Regions from separate parts of the Homo sapiens genome. Here region 1 is linked to region 2. Evidence: promoter capture Hi-C in human tissues and cell types (Jung and others, 2019). All regions are on one chromosome and are shown on one strand. Each heading gives the region's core, a stretch centred on a gene start or on the middle of the fragment in contact. The rest is flanking DNA. Distances are from core to core; before and after follow the strand shown. Region 1 overlaps FRYL (FRY like transcription coactivator). Region 2 holds the start of CWH43 (cell wall biogenesis 43 C-terminal homolog).

Region 1 (2,700 bases), core at 140-2,639, 380 kb before region 2:
TGGGTTGAATCATATCCCCCCAAAATTCATGTTGAAGTCCTAACCCCACAGACATCAGAAGGTGACTTCATTAGGAAATAGGTCATTGCAGATCACATTAATTAAGTTAGGATCGGGAAGACCCTAATCCACATGACTGGTGTCCTTTTAAAAAGGGGAAATTTGGACACAGACATACACTCAAGGAGAATGCCATGTGACAATGAAGGCAGGATTCAGAACCATGCTTCTACAAGCCAAGAAACACAAAAGATTTTCAGTGCACACAAGAGGCTAAGCAAGGGGCATGGAGCAGGTTCCTCCTCACAGCTCTTAGAAGGAACCAACCTGCTGGCACTTTGATCTCACACTCTAGCCTCCGTAAATATGAGACAATATACATTTCTGTTGTTAAGCTATCCAGTTTGCAGTACTTTATTACGGCTGTCCTAGCAGGCTAATAAACCTGGACACAAAAGCAAATATGGTATAAAAGAATCAGGCAACACGATGATAATGGACCATTGTCAAGTGCCTCTCTTCCTACAACCTGCTCCTTTTGACGAACTGCCTTAAAAACTAAAACCTAATCTCAGCCATCTGGGAGAAAAAAAAAGGATGATCAAACAAAGGGTGAAGTACAAATGATCATTTGGAAGGGATAAACAGTAATTCAAACAACTTACAGGAAAAGAAATCAAAGTGCATATCTAATAAAAGACTAAAACTGACATGACTTATACATGATAGCCTGTTTTCTTTTTTATAAAATGAGCCCAATTCATATGGCTAAAAACTGGGTGGGAGGAAACGGGGGCTGTGTAACTCAAATAAACCACTTGCAAACCTTTAATTTATGAGTTTTGTGTGTCCCCATTTTTAAAAATCTTCAATGCAAAACAGGTTTTAAAAAACACGTCAATCACTCTCATTAATATTTCAAATTCTTAACTTTTAAAACAATTCTCTGTTCACCTTTTCAAAACATGCTCTAAAGGTAGGACCTGAATACTACAAACCAATTCATATAAGCCCATAGGTCACAAGTAAGTGAATTCAATGTTTAAAAATGAAAGCCAAAACAGTTCAATTTTTCAACATGTAATACATTTCTTCATTTTTGAGATTTTAATTAGAATAAAATCTGAACAAAAAGAATGTAATTAATCTCCATTTCTAGCCAAGATGGAGCTGGATTTCCCCTACCATCTGCAACAACCAAAAAACAAAATACATGAAACGATCTCTAAAACATTGTATGATCAACAAAAGGAAGAGACCTCTGAGCAACAGGGAGCAAATGAGACGAGCCTTCCCATGGCCACAGCTTATTGTCATGTAAGTATTTTTAGGACAAAAAATAAAAGTATAAGGTTGATAAGGTTCTTGTATAACACACAAATGGTATGAAAATAAGAAAAATACTTACAGCAGCTACAGGGATAAGAATCTCCACAAATAAACCAGCAAGTGCATGTTTTATATCTTTATCTTTCACTTCTAAGAAATACTGAGCACATTCCTTAAAGGGAAAGAGGTATATACTTAGATTAACAAAAGAGGAAAGGTTAAAGAATTTGTAATATCACATCATTTTGTGAACACTCTGTCATTTTACCAAAAAACTAAGGTCAATGCATCTTCAAGTCAAAAAACAAAGCTGGCTGGGTGCGGTGGCTCACACCTGTAATCCCACCACTTTGGGAGGCTGAGGCGGGCAGATCACCTGAGGTGAGGAGTTGGAGACCAGCCTGGCCAACATGGTGAAATCCCGTCTCTACTAAAGAAAAAAAAAAAAAAAAAAAAAAAAAATTAGCCGGGCCTGGTGGCAGGCGCCTGTAATCCCAACTACTCGGGTGCCTGAGGCAGGAGAATCGCTTCAATCAGGAAGGTGGAGGTTGCAGTGAGCCGAGATCATGCCACTGCACTCCAGCCTGGGTGACAGAGTGAGACTCTGTCTCAAGGAAAAAAAAAAAATTAATTTACACTTAGAACAACTTAACACATGGAATAAGAGACTAAAAATGATGCCATTAATTTACGTGTATTTTGTTTCTTTTAAAAAGTCATGAAGAGCAAGGACTGTTAGGCTTGCTCTATTTACTGTCATTTAGAAGGTATATCACCTGCATAAATTGAAATGATGCTTCAAAATCTTCTACAGGATACATTTTTACTCGAAAAAATTTCATTCCCATTATTAAGCTGATGACACTTTGTACCACATGTGGGCTTTGTTCCTTTTGTCGCAGTTCTTTTAATTCTGTCACAAACTTCTTCCTTACAGCCTGAAACCTTTAATATACGTGGAGACATCATTTGATTTGAATTAAAAACACTAATTTCCACATGATATTTAAGGGTAAAAATCAAAAGGTATGCTACCTAAATATCATCTCCTTTCTCTACCTTCATTACAATTGCCAGAAAGGCACACAGAGGAAAATAAAAATTGCTACTCTAAATTTGCTGTTCATTTCTTTTAAAATTAAATTAAAAGTTTCTGAAGGAGAAATAATAGGATTTCTTTATTCCTATAATATTATCAAGACACCACCATTACCATTTAATTAATAACCATAATAGAATAATATCAAATAACCAACCCACAAAACGCCACCATGTAAATCAGTGTCTCCAACTTTTAAGGCTCTTTTTATATAAAGTCTGCAATTAGTTATATGGAGAGCATATTGGAGACTATAAATTTGTTCACAGAGA
Region 2 (2,700 bases), core at 101-2,600:
TCTATTCCATTAATCTATGTATCTACCCTTGAGATTGAGAGAGCTAGTAATTAACCGATTAAGAACTGTTTACTTGGTCAGGCGCGGTGGCTCACGCTGGTAATCCCAGCACTTTGGGCGGCCGAGGAGGGCGGATCATGAGGTCAGGAGTTTGAGACCAGCCTGGCCAATATGGTGAAACCCCGTCTTTACTAAAAATACAAAAATTACCTGGGTGTGGTGGCACGTGCCTGTAGTCCCAGCTGCGCGAGAGGCTGAGGCAGGAGAATCGCTTGAACCCAGGAGGCGGAGGTTGCAGTGAGCCGAGATTATGCCACCGCCCTCCAGCCTGGGCTACAGAGCAGGACTCCGTCTCAAACACAACAAAACAGAAAAAAACTCTTTGCTCAATACTCCTATGGACTTAATAGCAATGATTGCTGCTAATGTGATTCTAATACTTTTTGGGCATGCCATCATTGTTTAATTTCAGAGCAAACTTTCTGGAACTGATAAATAATAAGCTCTCCTTAAGAAATTAAAGTGCATTAAAATAAATTGCTTTCAGGGGTTCTTAAACAAGTTCAAGACATCCAGGAGTGTGATACATTTGAGCGAGAAATAGCTGGCCTAGTTCACTCTCCACATTAATCAGAACGTCTCCCACCTTCTTTTTAGGGATAAGCACTCTCAAATATCATTATTCATAAACTAGGGGAGGGCCGGGTTTCCACTCGCATCAGTTACTTTCTCTCCCCTGAGAATATCTTGCAGCCGCTGGAATTTTGGGCCCCTTTGCTAGGAGGCAATTAACAAATTGCACTTTTACTATCAAAGCTGAGAGTGGCCCAGCAGTGGCCCTGGCCCTGCCGGCACGCTTCCGATGCGTCGCCCTGGCCTGAAGATCGCCACAGTCGGGTTCGCGCCCCGTGGTCCCCTAAGGCTTCCAGGGCGCTGGAGCTGGTGCACAGGACCTGCTCCTCCAGGGTCCCCATCTGGGTCTCCAGCGGTCCTTCCTCTCTGCCTTCTCCTCGCAGAGCACCCCGTGGGCCTAGTCTAAACGAGGGCACCACTGGTCCGGAGTTGCACTTGTTCGCTCCCTCCTGGGCTCTGGCAGCGCTGCATCCCCGGGGTTGCTTCGGGTTCGGGCCCAATAGCAGAGTCAGAGCCGAGACGCATGTCCCCTGCACCGGCCAAGGGTGCCGCTGGGGCTCGCGCCAAGGAGGCAAAGGCGGGGACCAGAGGCGCCGGAGGCGGCGCAACGCGCACAGGTGGCGCCCGGCCTGGCCAGGCTCTGGCAGGCGAGGCTGGGTGTGGTCGTGAAGGGGCGGGCGGACCGGCCCCACACTGCCTCGGTTCGGCAAGTGGGTCAGTTGGCTGGGGCTCACTTGGCAACGGGACGCGGGAACGAGGGGCGCGGACGCAGGCCCGGGAGGACGCGGCGGCGGGAACCTGGGGGCGCAGGGCTAGGGCAGCGGGCCCGACCCGCACGGCTTTCCTGGAAAGCGCTGCCCCTCGCCGCGGCGATGCCCTCGCTGTGGAGAGAAATCCTCTTGGAGTCGCTGCTGGGTAAGCCGAAGCCCCTCGCCGCGAGTTCGCGGGTGCCAGCTCCCCGGGCCATGTCCAGAGCCGTGGAGCCAGGCCAGGTTGGCTGAGTTCAGGTAGGAGGAAAAGGGCGCTCCGTGCCCAGAGTGGAGATGCTTATCGTCCCCTGGGAACTTTTCCTACTGAAGGGAATAAAGGAAAAGACCTAGATTGAAGTCTTCAAGCTGAGTCTGCGAGGCGCCCGCGAGAGACCCCGTCGCCCGAGTTCCCAGCAGCCCTGGGATTGTGCCCAAGGAGCGCGAATTCTCCTCGTGTCGGCCTTGACCCCGCGCGGCCGGTACCGTCCCCAAAGCCCCCCACCCGTGGCCTTTAAGTTTAACTTAATACAGTTCAGTGCTGAACTTTAAAATTCAGAAGGAAAGGGGCACCCGTTTTCCCCAGGAGCTGTAGGTGGACACTGGGCGGCAGCTGCTGCCGTGGGCTGGGCCCAGGACAAGTGGCCTTGGTGTCGGCTGCACACTTGGGCATTTGGCGAAAAGCATCAGACTCGAGTCTCATCTGCTCTCTCACCAGCTTTGCAAAATCCCGAGGACAATTTTATTGGTGTAATTCTGTCGGAGCTGTGTGAGTAATAAAATCAAAGTTCCCAGACAAACATTTGGGATATTGCTAGAATCCCCGGTTCGTTACAAAACAAAGATCCCTCTGGTCTGGGTGGGGCGCCTTCCTGAGAACTTGATTTTCTGGGAGCTGGTAATTCTCGGGAGTGCTTCAGACTATTTTTTTCTGGCTCAGCCTGTATCTATAAGTTGGGAGATGTACAGTGCCTAGCATTCAATAAGTACCTCAGGTGCTAGGTACTCAGTGCACTTGATCTCATTTAATCCTCCCAACAACACTGTGAAGGGGTTGAAAGTCCTATTTTGCTGATTAAGAAGGGGAGGTTGGAAAGTCAGTTGGTAGAAAGTTCCCACGCCCAGTGGTTAGACCGGCTACCTTTGGAGCCAGGCTGCTTAGAGTTAGGGCAACTCTGACATTTGCTACTTGTGTAACCTTAGGTACTCACTTAACTTTCTGAGTCTCAGTGTTTTGTTTGTTGTTTTGTTCTTGCTTAGTTAGTTTTTGCATTTATAAGAGGGGAGCGGAAATAGTACCCACCTCATAGCTTATGGGGCT

What was found. Contacts are between HindIII fragments. The study calls those that stand out against the background at their distance.
Region 1: a contact is called between a fragment that was not itself captured here and the fragment with the promoter of CWH43 in region 2, in 2 of the 25 tissues and cell types used here (dorsolateral prefrontal cortex and mesenchymal stem cells).

The regions. Positions count from the first base shown.
Region 1 is chr4:48,604,333-48,607,032 of GRCh38, forward strand. It overlaps FRYL (FRY like transcription coactivator), which reads right to left. Exons shown (of 64, transcript NM_015030.2): 10 at 2,106-2,274; 11 at 1,409-1,501. Among named protein-coding and RNA genes, the nearest start is that of ZAR1, 120 kb to the left of the region's middle. The HindIII fragment of the contact is 7,255 bases long and covers 1-2,700 here.
Region 2 is chr4:48,984,925-48,987,624 of GRCh38, forward strand. CWH43 (cell wall biogenesis 43 C-terminal homolog) reads left to right here and starts at 1,351. Exons shown (of 16, transcript NM_025087.3): 1 at 1,351-1,548. The coding sequence starts at 1,506. The HindIII fragment of the contact is 14,941 bases long and covers 1-2,700 here.